Regions from separate parts of the Homo sapiens genome. Here all the other regions are linked to region 1. Evidence: promoter capture Hi-C in 16 types of primary human blood cells and fetal thymus (Javierre and others, 2016). All regions are on one chromosome and are shown on one strand. The core of a region is centred on a gene start or on the middle of the fragment in contact, and the rest is flanking DNA. Distances in the headings are between cores, read along the strand shown.

Region 1 (2,699 bases), core at 114-2,613:
GTGGGATGTGGGTGAGGGATGGTCTTCCTGAGGAAGTGACACTTAAAGTGAAACCTGAAGGATGAACAGGAGTTAGGAACAAAGAAGAGAGTGGGAAATTATTCTTGGTTCAAGGATCAACATTTAGAAGCCTTAAAACTTGAGGGGAGGCCGGGTGCAGTGGCTCACGCCTGTAATCTCAGTACTTTGGGAGGCCGAGGCGGGCGGATCACCTGAGGTCCGGAGTTGGAGACCAGCCTGACCAACTTGGAGAAACCTCGTTTCTACCAAAAATACAATCGCAGCTACTCGGGAGGCGGAGGTAGGAGAATCGCTTGAACCCGGGAGGCAGACATTGCGGTGAGCCGAGATCGTGCCATTGCACTCCAGCCTGGGCAACAAGAGCAAAACTCCGTCTCAAAAAAACAAAACTTGCGGGGTGCGGGGGCAGGGGAGTGGAAGGAAGACCTGGAAGTGCAGTGCGGATGAAACGAGGGGTAGTGGGAAGAGGCGGTAGGTAGGAGGCTGATTAAACAGGGCCTTAAAAGTTACATTGTTTTAAAGACCTCTCGTGTGTGGGTTCCACCCAATTCTTCAAGGAAATTGAACCCTGGACACCGTCCAGCGATTTTTCTGGCCATCTTGACTCAGCATCTTCCTTCATCCTATATCAGCACATTACGGGGGGGCCATCAAGCTTCCTTCTATCTACTTACTCTGCCTTGGCGTTTGACTCCTTCCTAGCTATCAGATTTCCCCGACTTTTTAGCATGGCCCTTCTGAGCGCTCTTATTTCACTTCTCCCCGCCCCCAACCCCACCGCCTAACTCTCCCAACTCTGCAGTCCGTGACCTTCAGGTGCCCTTCAAGGTCAGAAAAACTCGGCAAGGTTGGTACTTGCAGGACATTAGCAATTCAAAGAGGTGTCACACAACCTCACCATTAGATGGGAACAATAGCTTACCCAACACCCATATTTAGATTATTCCGCCACAACTACTCTGGGGGATGGTTTTATTTGCGGCGGCTTTCTCCGTCCATAGGCACCGCGTGAAGGGCACCGTAAGAATCTTCCCGAATGCTCCTGTCACGCGTCCCGGCCGCCTCTTCTTCCTCCCCGCCACTTCCCGAGGCCAGGCCCGCGGATAACGCCTCAGTTGCGACCCAGCTCTAGGCAGTCCGCAGGGGCCTCCGCCGGGGAGGGAAGGCACGACCTGGGGCCGAGCGGGGCCAAGCCGCGGGGCAGCACGCCGGGGCAGGCGCGGGCGGGCGCTGTCGCCGCGCGGACTGAAGGCGCGGGCGGAAGGCGGTCGCGCGGGTGGGCAGGGGGCACCGCTAGGGGCGGGGCTTCGGCGCGTCGGAGGCGGAGCTCCCGCGCCGTTCACGTGACGGGCCCGGCTGTAGCGGCGGCGGCCGCGGCGTCTTAAGCGGCGCCCAGTGCAGGATGGTGCTGGAGGCGGCGGCGGCCGTGGTGGCGGCAGCGTCGTTGGCGGCAGCGGGAGTGGGTGCGGCGGCAGCGGCGGCGGCGCCCGCGGGTGGTATAAAATGGCGGATTTCGAAGAGTTGAGGGTAAGCGGGAGTGGAGAGCGGAGGCCGCGGGGGAGGGGATGGGAGAGGAGGTGGGGAAACCGCAACGTCGCCGGCCGCCGCCTGCTCGTGCCTCTGGGGCCGGTTGGCGGAGCCCTGAGCCCCGGCCCGCGGACGAACGGGCGCCGAGGGCGCGGGGGAGGGGAGCGGGCCGGCGGAGGGCACGCGGGCGGCGCGGGGGCGGCGGGCCTGGGCCGCGGCGAGCCGGCTCCTGAGTGCTGCCAGTGGTCCGCACACCTGGCGCGGGGGGTCGGGGCGCCCTCCAGGAGGGGCACATGGGGACCCGACATCCCGGTTCGCAGTGAGGGCCGATGTGGGAAGCAACGTTTGATCTTGCACCTTCACCGGGGTGTACGTGTCTGTGGCTATTCACAAGTCTGCATGCTACTCACTTGGTGGAGGACTGTTTTCTGAAAGCTGAAGTTGCGTTTAGGAATCTCTCCTCTTCTTATGGCTGATGCTACCGTTTAGTCAGGTCTGTCACGAGAAAAGGCCCCTTCTCCCACCCTTGCCTCCTAACATCTTCGAGGAACCTAATGTTTGGGGATCCCTGCCTTCAATAATCGGCCTTAAACCTCGATATTTTCTTAGTGTTTTAGTAAGAAATCTGCAAAGTCTATGTTGTGAGGTTTGTGCACCCCTTTTACTCTTGAGGAAAAATATTTTTTTCTTCTCAGTCTTAAAACAAGATCATAACTTTATTGTTGATACCCTTGTATAGCAGAGGTCTGGAATAGGGCTGTGATGGGGGTAGAACAGAAGAGACTTTTTCCCCCCAGACTGATAACCTTTAAAGTCCTAACTAAGTGTGACGAATGAGATGGATTTGTGTGTATCGCTGAATTACTGGCGACATAAATGAGATGTTTACGGACAGAAACCCTGATTTTTTTTTTTTTTAAATGTATCAAGGTAGAGATGAGTGTAAACTTGAAATTACATTTACTGCAACTCGTTTGTGTAACACTTATGATATTAGGATTTCTTTTTCAAATAAGGAAGAGGAATCCGGTAAAAGGTTCAGTTTTGTATATTTATTGTTTTCCGCAAGAGATGGGATGGGGGAAGGATGTTGGCTGGTTACCTGCTTAGTGGACGTGAGCAAAAGAACGTATCCTCTGCTCTAAACGGAG
Region 2 (2,699 bases), core at 69-2,568, 810 kb after region 1:
GGCTGAGGCATGAGAATCACTTGAACCCAGGAGATGGAGGTTGCAGTGAGCTGAGATCACACCACTGCACTCCAGCCTGGGCGACAGAGCAAGATTGTCTAAAATATATACACACACACACACACACACACACACACACACACACACACACATACATATACATATATATAAACATAAAACAATAAAGTTACTACTATAACAGAGTGGAAGAAAATCTGGGAAAAATAAAGGAGCAAAACAAGTAGTCTACAGTAAATTAATCCTGTATACTTTAGTGTTATAAAATTTGGTTACCTCTATTTATTCTCGTTCAAAACTCTGGACTTAATCTCACCTTCTGACTCGTATTCACTTGCTTTCTGCTTCAAGTCCTCTATTACCAGGTAGACATCCCTGTCCCGGACCCTGTTGCGTTCTGAAAGGTGATGTAAAATCTCTGTGGTCCGTGGGTTCACCTCATACTGTGGAATAGGATGATCTCCAAATATTTTTTTTAACCACGCAGCAACCTAACCATTAAAAGAAAGACAAATATTATAAGCCTTGTTTACTGTAATGGCTCGATGAGAATATGACAAAGAAGTGATCAAAAGCAAACTAAATGCTTTCTGTGACTATTTTGGAGTCCTACTTCACAACCTCACTTGTCTTTAGGGAGATACTAGATATCAGGAAATAAAAAGTGAGCAAGTACACAAAGAAACGTACAATACTGAAAATTACCAGAGAACAATCCGTTCTTTTCCAAATCTGCAAAAGCGGTACAGGCTAACAATTTGCCTCGCTTGAAAAACCTTAAAGCTTAATAGACCATAATAATGCGAACGCATTATTAGACCGTGCATGGTCTGAAAAAAGCAATTGTCCCTCGATCACCAGAAGCCCCGCCGCGCCGGGAGGCTCCCAGTGTTGGGATGCAGGGCGCGGAAGCAGTTCAGATGTGGAAGCCGCCGGGCTGAGCAGCGAACCGGAAGGCGGGTTTGGCTTCATAAGTCCCACTCCAGAGTCTGTGGACACGGGCTGCTCAACGCCTCTCCCGGGCCAGATCCAAACAAGGGGAGGCCCGGGCAGGAAGGGAAAGGCCTTCAGGAGAGTCTAAGCACGGGGGGCTTGCAGATAGTGACGGCGGCACTAAAAGACGGATGTGTGGAATAGGGGAGAGAAAAGTAGACGTGGCGCGCACAGGAGACCCGCTGTCGGCGCGGGGGTGTCAAAAACGCGTTTTCCAGGAGGCCAACGATCCCCATTCCCGCCCCATCACCTGCGTTTCTCTCTCCTCCTGCGGCTCCATAGCTGCGGCTCCCGCCACTTTACTAGGAACTCCTAGCGGGAGATGCGCCCCGCTCACTCCCTAGGCCCCGCCCACACGCCGTTGGCACCCGCCCCTCGCCGGGCCCGGGATTTCTGGGAGTTGTGGTTTTACCTGAGACTCCTGGCCGTTGAGCCCCTGTGCAAGGCTGGTCGAAGGCTCTGGCATTGCAAGCCTCGCTTCGTTGCCACTTCCCAGCTCTTCCCGCCTTCCGCGGTATAATCAACACTACGAGAGATAGAGCCGCCTAGAACCAGGTTGTTTTTTCTTTCTTTTATTTTTATTTCTTGTTTGAATCACTTGTCGTTAAAAAAAAGTACTTGAAACGTTTGGTTCTTGCTTAGCAAGATGTTTGTGTTTCTTCCACATTGATTGCATCCACTCAGAATTTATATTCTACCCTGGCAATATGAGCTGAGGCAATCTTAACTTGATCCGTTAGTTCCCCCAACCTAAAAACTAGGGACATTTTTTTTTTTTGAGACAGAGTCTCGCTTTGTCGCCCAGGCTGGAGTGCAGTGGCATGATCTCGGCTCACTGCAACCTCTGCCTCCTGGGTTCAAGCGATTCTTCTGTCTCAGCCTCCCAAGTAGCTGGGACTACGGGCAAGCGCCACCACGCCTGGCTAATTTTTGTGTTTTTAGTAGAGACGGGGTTTCACCATATTGGCCAGGCTGGTCTCGAACTCCTAACCTCATGATCCGCCCACCTCGGCCTCCCAAAGTGCTGGGATTACAGGCGTGAGCCAGCGCGCCCAGCTTTTTTTTTTTTTTTTTTTTTTTTGAGATGGAGTCTCTGTTGTTCAGGCTGGAGGGCAGTGGCACGATCTCGGCTCTCGGCTCTCAGCTCACTGCCACCTCTGCTTCCCGGGTTCAAGCGATTCTCCTGCCTCAGCCTTCCGAGTAGCTGGGATTACAGGTGTGCATCACCACGCCCAGCTAATTTTTTGTATCTTAGTAAAGATGGGATCTCATCAGGTTGGCCAGCTTGGTCTCGAACTCCTGACTTCAGGTGATCCGCCCGCCTTGGCCTCCCAAAGTGCTGGGATTACAGGCACTGCGCCCGACCTTTTCTTTTCTTTTTGAGATGGAGTGTTTCTCTGTCGCTTAGGCTGGAGTGCAGAGTGACATGATCTTGGCTCACTGCGACCTCCAACCCCCGTCCCCAGGCTCAAGCAATTCTCCTGTCTCATCCTCTCTAGTAGCTGGGATTACAGGCTTGTGCTAGCATGCAGGGATAATTTTTTTATTTTTAGTAGAACGGGGGGTTTCACCACGTTGATCAGGCTGGTCTCAAACTCCTGACCTCAAGTGATCTGCCTGCCTCGGCCTCTCAAAGAGCTAGGATTACAGGTGTGAGCCAACACACCCAGCCTAAAATGATTTTCTTT
Region 3 (2,699 bases), core at 55-2,554, 720 kb after region 1:
AGGAGGCTGAGGCAGGAGAATCGCTTGAACCCGGAAGGCAGAGGTTGCAGTGAGCCAAGATTGCGCCACTGCGCTCCAGCCTGGGTGACAGAGCAAGACTCTGTCTTAAAAAAAAACAAACGAACAAACAAAAAAACTGTAACCTGTGACATCTGACATCTTGTCCCTGGCAAATCCTGAACTCAGTATAAATGACTCCCAGTTTCCATAAACTGATAAAATTGATTGATTAGATAGATAGCAAATGTGGTCTTTCGGAAAAATGAATAATTCAGGTTTGGTCAGAGAAACAGAACCACCAGGTCTTAAAAATACACCCTCTGCCCCCAGCACGCGCGCGCACACACACACACACACACACACACAATAAAGAATTTTCTGTAAGGCTATCTGCATCTGATGCTGGCGCTTAAAATCCACAGGGCCGCAGGTGAGACAGAAAGATGGATGTGGCAGAGAACAAGTAGGAGAGAGCAAGAAACAACGAGCTAGAAATCACACACACAAGCTTAAGTCCACAGGACAAACTGAACTCTGTATTAGTTCTTGTTGCCTCTAACCTTGATGGTATAGATGTCCTATAGAACCAAACCTCTTTGTCAAACAGCTAAACATATACCTGGCCCAGGAGTCAGCAGAGCTGAAGAAGATTGGGAAGGAGATCTAGGGGAGAGTTAAACAGTTGCAGTCCCATAAGCTGCTTCACTACAAAGAAGTGAGGTGACTCAACAGATAAGCAACAATGTATGTAAACAACAAAATGGCCACTCTCCAAATCTCCTACAGTAATCTCTCTTGTGCCCAACCTTACAAGAAAGACACAGGAAAGTGTAATCACAGCATTTTGGGAGGCTGAGGCGGGTGGATCACTTGAGGTCAGGAGTTCAAGACCAGCCTGGCCAACATGGTGAAACCCCACCTCTACTAAAAAAAAAAAAAAAAAAAAAAAATGAGCTGGGTGTGGTGGCACACACTTGTAGTTCCAGCTACTCAGGAGACTGAGGCAGGAAGAATCGCTTGAAGCCAGGAGACAGAGGTTGCACTGAGCCGAGATCACTCCACTGCACTCCAGCCTGGGCAACAGCGAGAGATTCCATCTCAAAAAAATAAAATAAAATAATTTTTAAAAATTAAAAAGAAAGATACAGGAAAGGAGTTTCTAGGAAATGTAGTTCAGCCTGAAATAACATATAAGCCCACCATGGAAAGGTAAAAGATGGCATGAATACTGTGAAAGTTAAGATAGAGGTGCAAAACAAGCAAGAAGGTCTTAAATATTGACTGAGGGCAAGTTTCAAATTTAATTTTGTTTTATCTCATTTACTCCCAGACTGCTTTAAAATCCATAATCTTTGCGTGCTCATTTGCTGTAATTCTATGGGTTCCATATTTCCCATCTCATCTTCCAATTCTAGCTGGACTATAGATGTAGGTTTATGATTATCATGACAAAACTAAGCTACAAAAGGACTATGAATGAGGAACTCTTTTCTATATTAGAAATGATCTCCAGGGTCCATTTTTAAGAAGGAAAAAGGCTGGGCACAGTGGCTCACATCCGTAATCCCAGCACTTTGGGAGGCCGAGGCAGGTGGATCACAAGGTCAGGAGTTCGAGACCAACCTGGCCAACATAGTGAAACCCCATCTCTACTTAAAATACAAAAATTAGCCAGGTGTGATGGTGCACGCCTGTAGTCCCAGCTACTTGGGAGGCTGAGGCAGGAGAATCACTTGAACCCGGGAGGTGGAGGTTGCAGTGAGCCGAGATGCACCACTGCACTCCAGCCTGGACAACAGACCAAAACTCCATCTCAAAAAAGAAAAAAGACAAGTGGGTACAATATGGTATTTGTATAAAACATGAGGGAAGAAAATCTACCTACATTTGCGTATTTTAAAAATCTATAAGGAAACAAGAAATTAGTAATTCTTACTTGTGAAAAGTAGGAAGGTGAAAGGTAGAGAATCAAAATGGGAGAATGAACTTTTTATAATATTGTCTCATAGTTCTTCGTTTTATGGACCAATGTAAAAATCTTTCAAAACTGCATTACAATGTAACTATTAAAAATTAAATTTAAAAAAGAGTCAAGCTTCTTTTTTTTTTTTTTTTTTTTTTTGGAGATGGAGTCTGGTTCAGTCATCCATACTGGAGTGCAGTGGGGGCGATCTCGGCTCACTGCAACCTCCACCTCCCGGGTTCAAGTGATTCTGTGATTCTCGTGCCTCAGCTTCCCAGGTAGCTGGGACTACAGGCGCCACCACCATACCCGGCTAACTTTTGTATTTTTAGTAGAGACAGTGTTTCACCATGTTGGTGAGGCCGGTTTTGAACTCCCGACCTCAAGTGATCCAGCCACCTCAGCCTCCCACAGTGCTGGGATTATAGGCGTGAGCCACCACACCTGGCCCACAATTTTCAAAAATGGAAATATCGTAGGAAAAACTGGGCAGGTTAAGTAACAGATTACACACAGCTAAAAAGAAAACTAGCAAACTAAAAGACAGATTTGAAGAAAATACCCATAACGGCATACAAAAAATATGAGATGGAAAATATAAAAGAGGTGAAAGTACATCATGCAGAATCATAAGTCCTAATCAAGGAACTACCAACACACGTCCTCCTGGATTTCAGAAATGCTATTTATATCAGTGACTCCAGTGTACTTCTTGCTTTCCCCTTTTTGAAAAGAG
Region 4 (2,699 bases), core at 97-2,596, 700 kb after region 1:
CACGCCTGTAGTCACAGCTACTTGGGAGGCTGAGGCAGGAGAATCGCTTGAACCTGGGAGGCGGAGGTTGCAGTGAGCAGAGATCGCGCCACTGCACTCCAGCCTGGTGACAGAGCAAGACTCGGTCTCAAAAAAAAAAAAAAAGAAATCACTTGATAAAAAGCCTTGATACTCAAGATAACCATCACATAGTACTTTTACATGAATTCACTATAAAATATTATAAATTTACTATAAAATGCCCTTTACTCAACTCTAAGTCTGCCAAATGAAAGTACTGCCAGCATTATTTTGATATGATACCTCCAAACAGATTCTTAAAACATCAATATATTTCCAAAAACTTCAAAGAGAGATGATCTAGTGCCGATACTAAGCTGCCTGTCAGTTAACTGCTAACTTTAAAAAATCGTCATAAACATCTGTTGCCCAGATATCAAACTCAATTAAAGTATGATCATGCACTACACTGGTCTGCATTATTAATTATTTGCACTCTCTAAAAGAATATGCATTAACAGTTACAATTATTTGGCATAACATTTAGGATTAAGGTATTAGGATATCCTAACAGGAATTATTTAGGATAATGCCTTCAACTTTTAAGCTGAGCCCAAACAAAAGCTTATAAAGAGCATTTTCTGAATTACTAAATTGGTTGTACCTTAATGAAAGAGTATGGCAATAATCGGTTTTTACTTTTCCACTTGGTTTCCATTCTGTGTAAACAGCTGAATTAACATTCCGACATCCAAGAGATTCTGTTAGGCCCATCCAGCTTAAGTTCACCTGAATGTCCATGTTGTTGAACTCAAGTCAGTTCATAATTTATCCTACCTTTACAATTTAGGCAACTTTTCGACAACTGCTCTTACTATAAGGTTGAACGTGCCTCCTCTCTTCCCCAAAGTCATAAGGTGACTCAGTAAACTGAAAGATACATCACTGTTACATTAAAAATTCACAATGTCACAATTTTTCAAGAGACAACAATATGGACAATTGAAATGAAATTCCTAATATTTGAACTCTAAGTTGTTCCATTTTTGCTGCTTTGCATAATTCCAGTAAAGATCATTCATACCTGTCTTATGGGAATGGCAGGTATACCATAAGACCTCCCAAAACTGCCAGCACACACACAGGCAGTCACATACAGTGACCCTGTACCTCAATCTACCATTTGATTCTCCAGGATTACCTTAGAAAACTATGTGTATTTTCAAAAGCCACAAAGTTACTAAATGGTGTGAACAATAGAAACCAAACTATAGATTCAAATTAATTTACTTTGGTGTTCAGTTAGTACACAATTCAGAAGAGACAAGAAACAGACACTGGTGTTTTAAGTTTTAAGCAGTGGTCAAGATACTCAATTAGAAAGAAGATTAGGAAAATATGAACAAAGCACATCTAACCTATTTAAGCAAAACAGGGAAAGTGCCTATGAAGACATTTCTCAAGCCACCTTACAATAGGGTTCTGACTTTAAATTTTGTTTACCCACCTTCTTCCTTTCCACAAAAAGGCAAAGTATTGGGGTAGTTACATAAAATCCTGCTTAGTAAGTGGAAGTAAGTATTGTATTAAGAGTTCCATCAAGGTCTTGATTAAGAGGTTAGAAGAGGATATAGGAATGCACAATTTTACAGGTATTAATAAGGTTTTTTTAAAAATATTAATACATGTAAAACTAAAATATATACCTAAAACCTGCCTTAGAACAACCCCAAAGTCTGTTTCTCTCATACATTTAACTGATGAGCTTCATTGAAATCCCCCTCCCGGTAGTTTTATTACAAGGAACAATAGCAAAGGAATCCAATAGAGATATTAAAACAGTAAAAAGCATTTCTAAAGATCGTTTGAGACTCATATTTATATTATATGGACAAGACTTATTATCAGAACTTGAACACCTATAAAGTGCTTTAAAACCAATCATTCTTGTTACTGAATTTATATAAGTTTGGGAAGCTATAGATTCCATTAACCAATATGATTTCTCTTGAAATGTTCTTTGTATATCAGCAATATGCTGTCTTCACATGTAGAAACAGAAAGCTTTCAGAAAACAGGGAGAGAAAAAACATAGTCACCCATAAAACTTTAGAAAACCCAAACTTGCCCCTCTTCAATGTGGCAATAAACAATACTGCCATGACCTATTCAATGCCATACAGTTTACAAAATGTTCCTGATCATATTGTAAGGATCTCTTGGATAATAAGAATTCACTACTTAAGAACCATTCAGATACATCTTTCTTCCACTATGAAATCTCAAGACTGCCTTTGTATTATAGTACACAGTACCAGATGCAATAAGAATGGGGAAAGCAGATTTACCAAATATGTAATAAGTTACAGACCCTTATACCAATGAGAGCTAGAACAAGCGGATTTCTAACAAACTTTTTTAAAACTTGGGGAACTAATGGGAAATTTTTCAGAAAGACATTCTTTTCAACGTGAGGATAGAAAGATTTGTAACAAGGATAACTAGCTTCTCATGCATTGAATATGGGGGAAACACATAAAACTACTGTTTTTGGAGGAAAAATTATTAGAAAACTTTAACAAAAGATAGAATGTGTTATTTCAGACACTATAAGCTCAAGTGCAGTGGCTATATAATAAAGCAAGGTGCCTATTCCTGAGGAGAATGTACTCAGTAATGATGCCGAACAGTGAGTATTA
Region 5 (2,699 bases), core at 115-2,614, 650 kb after region 1:
TGAAAACTCAGACATCTTATAAAGATAAGACTTGTTAACAAAATAGAATCCACTTTCACATTTAAAAGGTAACTTGGAAATTGCTCCAGGTACCACCTAATTAACTGAAGCAGATAGGGACAAAGAAAAAAAAAAAAAAACCTCAGAAGATATCATTGTTTAAATACACTCTATTTTATTTTGTCTTAAAATAGTTTAACCTTTATGCTACAGACTTATTTCAAAAAACAGAAAATCTTATCTTGCACCAAAAAATATATATATAACACTCTGTTTTATTATTTTTTCTCCAAAGACCATTAAATACTAAAGGGAAACAAAAACGAAATAATGAATGTAAAGAACCAAATTTTGTTTTAAAAACTAGAGTTGCACATTTGAAAACATTAATTCTAAGCAATGATTTGTCATCACTGCATCAAGTCCACGCTCACACTCCAGCAACAGCAGATCCATTAACTGCCAAGTGCATTGGTTCCTAGCCATACAATGGCTAACATTTCATTTTCACGGTAAGAGGAGCAAAAGGCTTCAATGGCCTCTGTACTCTTTAAGAAACAAAACAACAACAAAAATATTTCCTAGTTATCCAGTGATTTTTTTTTAAGATCACTACCTTTTAAAATTTGTTAAGAGAATAAGAAGTAAGTAGTGTTTTAAATAAAATGAAAAAATACAACAGCATCAGACTAAAATACGTGATTATTTTAAACAAACAGTGCACAATCTGAGGAAGTTTGGTTAGGGCACAATCATTTTTATATCTACATGGAAGTCACATCATACACATATTGGAGAACAGGGATTGGGGAGCTTGCTTTGCCTTAAAAAAGTTTAAAACTAAAAGACAAAATAGTGTCCCCAGCTTTTTCAAAAACCTTTGTGACAGTATAAAAAGCAGGTAACAAACTTAGTTTTAAGTTAGTTATGGTGCTAATCTGCTAAAAGTAAAGATGAACAAATGACTACATTAGTAAACCAGACAATTCATATTCATAATTGATAATAAAAGCAAAGTTTATGGGATGTTTGATTGCCAAGAATAAACTGAATGAAATAAATTGAATAAAAAAGAATGCATTATTCATTCAGTCTGGCCCCTACCATCAAAATGAAAAGACAATTACTGGAGAGCAGCAATTACAGGTTACATGGCAGTCATGATGATGCAACAGCTAGGTCACTGCTCTGTTTTTCACAAATTGGAGGGGGTGGAAACTTAACCAAGTCAGTGGCATAAACCAATCTGTGACCCACATGTACCATTTTAGCAGAGAGATTACTCTGAAGACAATGTCCTGTGAAGCATAAAGAACTACTTATGCTACCAAATGTAAAACTTTGATTAAGAAAAACCCCTTTAAAAGAAACTTCAAATGTCACAGGAGCTGTATACCACGGAATTGTATCATTAATACCTTGCCTGAAACCACACTCTCCACTCTTCTGGAAACAGCAATGAAAAGAGAGTTGAAACACAGTCTCTCTATAGTTATTAGGGGAAATGACCCAACCTAGTAGGGGAGAGCTGTCTATCTCTACCATCCCTTCCCCTCCCCCTCTGCATCTTAATATCCAAATCTCCGTTCTGGTCCATTAAGTCAGGCAGTTGGGAGCTGGACTAGGAATAAGTGAGGCAAAAGTGCAAGCTGACATAAAGGCAAAGGGCCAGAGAAGAGACTGGTTACAGCTCCACTCTGTTCCTAATCCACAGTGCACACAGCACGCCAACTCTGTAGAGGATGACTATATTAGGGACTATGAAGAAAATATGTCACACGGGAAATCACCTGCTGTGTGGAATTGGGAAAAAAAATATGTGGTTAACATAAGAACAGGTCATGCAAAAACATTCATTAAAATGGGCCTCTGCCCTGACAGTGGGGGAAAAAATAAGCTGCAAAAACTTCAAGTCACATCATCCACTCTATTCTCTTCTCTATGAATTTCCTGGAAAACACAGACCAGAAATTGTACATTTCTGCTTTGTCTAGTATTTTAATTCAAGTCAAAAACTATGTGTAACAGTAAAATTCAATAAATTAATCCTAAAGTAAAATGTGAAGGTCCAAGGATACACCAGTAGTGAATCTTCAGAAGGTCCTACTTTGCTCTGGCCTCTGGGTCTTTGGTTTTTGTCTAGAATTGTGGCCATGTGAGAGACTGATATATGAGTTGCTAAAGCTGGAGGTTCATGATCTTAAAAGCCTTATCTAACAAAAGCAGAAAATAAAAATAAAAAAAATAAAAGCTGATGAAGGACAGAGGCCAGATCAAATGAGATGCTATCAGAGAAGATCAAAGAACATATGCACAAATACATTCCTGTGGAAGAAGGAACATACAGGAGAACTAATGCAACAAGAAGCGTAAAGGAATAAACTTGTCTTTACAAAAAAAAAAAAAAAAGAAGAAGATGAAGAAGAAGAAGAAGAACAGGCTGGGCAGGTGGAGGCAGGCAGACACTGATGCATGTGTATGTGCGGTGTGTGTCATTCATCTCAGCAGCCCCCAGAGCACCCACCCCTCACAGTGCCTTATGCAGAGCAGGCACTTGGTAAATTTGTTTGCTGAATGAAAACTGAAAATGGTAATTCTCATACTCTTAATGATAAGAAGAGCCACCAGGGGATTTGGAGAGACAGGCAAAGGGCCATAGCAACGGTAACAATGGAAACAAAAACAAAAACAAAACAAAC
Region 6 (2,699 bases), core at 79-2,578, 580 kb after region 1:
AGAATGTGAGGGAGAGGGGATGTGGGGAAAGGGGACCGTGCAAACACACCCCATTTATCACAGTTAAAAACAAAGCCCGCGCCGGCCCGCTGCTTTGTCAACCGCTGCCCGGGGCAAAGGCCTGGCGTGGGGGCAGCTTCCCACCTCATCCTCACACACAGCACAACACCCAAGGGCCGGACGCCCCGCTCCAGCCGGACCCAAGGAGGGCACAGCAGCGCAGGTCTGACTCTCCGAGGCGCGCGCGCACACTCGCACACATGCACACACACATACAGACACACACACACACACACACACGCGCCCAAGCATCTTGAACCCGTGTATGCAACTGTCATACAAAGACAGTTGCGGGGGGCGGGGTGAGCAGGGCAATAGCACAAGGGCGATGCACAAAAAGGGTTAAAGACGAAAAAAGGATGGGATGGAAAATCGTGCAAGTGCCCACGAGAGGGTGGGGGCTGGGGCATGGGATAGGGCAGAGACCCAGGTCCCAGCTAGCCAGCCATCGGTACTAATGAACAAAAAATGAATACAAAACACACATAACACAAAACACACATATACCTCAAAAAAAGCAAACCACAGAAAACCAAGCATGCTCTCGCGCGCGCGCTCTCTCTCTCTCTCACACACACACACACACACACACACACACACACACACACACACACGGTCATGTATCTTTCTCCTTTCGATCATACAGGGCTAGGTATTAGGGGAAGGGGCTGTGATTTGGGGGAACCACGTCCGCCGCAAAAAATAAAAAATGGGGCTGGGGAGGAAGGGACCCAAATTCGCCAAACCCTAACTTCACTACAAAAGCTCCCACGAGGGCGGCCGCCCCCACCCTCGGGGGTCCCCCTAAAATGGGGTGGGGGGAAGCCACCGCTCGCCCTGCGTCCTCGCGGGTGTGCCCTGAGCCCCCGGCCGCCCGCGGCGCCCGCCCCCGCCCCGGTGCCTGCGGCGATCCACGCTCCGAAGCAGACCCCGAAAGGAAAAAGCGATACCTCTGTTTCGCACAGAGCCAAACACTGGAAGCACGAGATAGCCGACGTGGACCAGGACCATCCTGGCTCCTCGCGCGGCGGCGGCGGCGGCGGCTGCGCGCGGGCCCTTTGTGGCGCGGCTCCGGGGCGCGGGCGCGGGCGGCGGCGGGGCTGCGGGAGCCGCCGGGGCGGGAGGCGGAGCGCGGGGCGCGGGCGGCGGTGGGGCGGCGGCTGGCGGGGAGACAGATGGCCCATGGAAAGGCTCCCTTCCCGGCCCCTCTCGACATTCAAAGGCGCTGGGGCCGCAGCTGCCGCCACACAAAGGCGCGCGCAGCCAATGGGAGCGGAGCGCAGCGCGGCGCGGCCTCGCCGGAACCGCGGGGGACAGCGGGGACCGCGGGCGCGCGGGTGGCGGAGGGAGGGAGGGGTGACGGCTGGAAGGGGGCCGGCGGCCAATCGCTGCGGCCCGCTGCGGGGCGCGAGGGAGGGGTCAGCCCCACGGGAAGCGTGGAGCCCAGCGCGGGTCCCTGGCCGCCCGCGGGCCGGAGAGGGCGCGCGTGAAGCGCCCCTGCACAGACATGGGCGGCGTGAACACGGAACGTGCACACATGGAGAGGGACGTGCACTCAGACATGTGGAGGTGCGTTCCTTAGTGCAGAGAGACGGGCACGAGCGCCCTTAGTGCACACGACCCTGAGGTCCCTGCACACCGCGCACGGGTCACTCGGGGACGTGCGCTCGGAGGCTGGCGCACGTGTAGAGCCTGACTGCGGGCACAAGGGAAGCTGGAATGCGAACAAGCAGCCGCAAACAGGACCCAGGCACTGTCACACAGACATGCACACACCAAACGCCTTGTTAACGCAGGACGCGTGCCAAGAACGCATTCTCAGAGACACACAGAGGGAACACACGATGCAGACACAGGTAAGACACGCACACTCCCCAGGCTCTCTGCCTGGCGCACCGCGTCGTTGCTCTTGGAGAGCACAAAGCTCACAATAATTATTTGCTGAATTGAAATTCACTCATTCACTGAGGTCTTTGCCAACAGTCTACACAGAGACACACTGCCCAGAAAACCCAGGGCCACTCATCTACCTTTTGCCCTGATCTGAGACAGGTACACCCAGCCATGTGCACAGACACGCCCACTTCCACAGCCAGCAGGCGGATATGTAACATCAGGCTCTGAGGCTCCTGCAAATTCACACGTGGAGGCGCAGCCACCGTGTCACATGTGCCCTGTGACAGTCCAGCTGGGGACAAGCAAGACCCAATCAAAGAGCCTTCACCGCAAGCTTTGTTGCCAGGAGGACGACTGAGGCGGTGTTCTTGCATGCTCAGCTGACCTTCTGTGAAAACTCCCAAGGCAACCCTACGCCTACAATCAGGCTCACAGTTCACACACTAAGGCCAGAGAATGCTTCAGGGGCCCACCCACGGGCAGAAAGACAGAGGACATTCCCTACATTGGGACTTGTCTTCAAAGCCCAGTGGTTTCTTTCTTTAATGAGTCTGATAAATAGGAGATGGTAAAAATCACAGTATGTGGAGCTGGAAAGAATCTAATCCAACCCCAACCTGCCCTCACCTTGGAAAAGGAGGGTCATTCATTTAATCCATGCTGTGTTGAGCAAGGGCATAGGGAGGTGATCCCGATCTGCCCAAGATCCCAATTCTTGGAGGCCAGAGAGGGCCTCAGAGATG

Evidence for each region. Contacts are between HindIII fragments. The CHiCAGO score rates a contact against its expected background, and 5 or more counts as called.
Region 2: a contact is called between the fragment with the promoter of HAUS1 here and the fragment with the promoter of PIAS2 in region 1, in 13 of 17 cell types (non-activated CD4 T cells, total B cells, activated CD4 T cells and 10 more). The highest score is 15.5, in non-activated CD4 T cells.
Region 3: a fragment that was not itself captured here is called in contact with the fragment with the promoter of PIAS2 in region 1 in 1 of 17 cell types (total B cells); the score reaches 6.1 in total B cells.
Region 4: a fragment that was not itself captured here is called in contact with the fragment with the promoter of PIAS2 in region 1 in 1 of 17 cell types (total B cells); the score reaches 5.2 in total B cells.
Region 5: a contact is called between a fragment that was not itself captured here and the fragment with the promoter of PIAS2 in region 1, in 1 of 17 cell types (total B cells). The highest score is 7.0, in total B cells.
Region 6: the fragment with the promoter of ARK2C here is called in contact with the fragment with the promoter of PIAS2 in region 1 in 1 of 17 cell types (fetal thymus); the score reaches 7.2 in fetal thymus.

The regions. Positions count from the first base shown.
Region 1 is chr18:46,916,171-46,918,869 of GRCh38, reverse strand. It overlaps PIAS2 (protein inhibitor of activated STAT 2), which reads left to right and starts at 1,363. Exons shown (of 14, transcript NM_004671.5): 1 at 1,363-1,548. The coding sequence starts at 1,525. It overlaps KATNAL2 (katanin catalytic subunit A1 like 2), which reads right to left and starts at 1,268. Exons shown (of 18, transcript NM_001387690.1): 1 at 944-1,268. RefSeq lists silencers at 1,104-1,843, 1,914-1,993 and an enhancer at 1,214-1,967. The HindIII fragment of the contact is 2,459 bases long and covers 679-2,699 here.
Region 2 is chr18:46,103,004-46,105,702 of GRCh38, reverse strand. It overlaps HAUS1 (HAUS augmin like complex subunit 1), which reads right to left and starts at 1,318. Exons shown (of 9, transcript NM_138443.4): 1 at 1,262-1,318; 2 at 335-509. The coding sequence starts at 1,291. It also overlaps a transcript of ATP5F1A not described here. RefSeq lists an enhancer at 914-1,003 and a silencer at 1,394-1,493. The HindIII fragment of the contact is 1,925 bases long and covers 804-2,699 here.
Region 3 is chr18:46,197,734-46,200,432 of GRCh38, reverse strand. All of the region lies in intron 1 of ARK2N (arkadia (RNF111) N-terminal like PKA signaling regulator 2N), which reads right to left. Among named protein-coding and RNA genes, the nearest start is that of ARK2N, 25 kb to the right of the region's middle. The HindIII fragment of the contact is 1,587 bases long and covers 511-2,097 here.
Region 4 is chr18:46,216,919-46,219,617 of GRCh38, reverse strand. The region is part of intron 2 of ARK2N (arkadia (RNF111) N-terminal like PKA signaling regulator 2N); the gene reads right to left. Among named protein-coding and RNA genes, the nearest start is that of ARK2N, 44 kb to the right of the region's middle. The HindIII fragment of the contact is 1,440 bases long and covers 627-2,066 here.
Region 5 is chr18:46,264,446-46,267,144 of GRCh38, reverse strand. ARK2N (arkadia (RNF111) N-terminal like PKA signaling regulator 2N) reads right to left here. Exons shown (of 5, transcript NM_145055.5): 5 at 153-2,699. Among named protein-coding and RNA genes, the nearest start is that of ARK2C, 68 kb to the left of the region's middle. The HindIII fragment of the contact is 6,556 bases long and covers 1-2,699 here.
Region 6 is chr18:46,332,647-46,335,345 of GRCh38, reverse strand. It overlaps ARK2C (arkadia (RNF111) C-terminal like ring finger ubiquitin ligase 2C), which reads right to left and starts at 1,328. Exons shown (of 8, transcript NM_152470.3): 1 at 1,011-1,328. The coding sequence starts at 1,071. RefSeq lists enhancers at 1,275-1,885, 1,886-2,497. The HindIII fragment of the contact is 2,733 bases long and covers 1-2,292 here.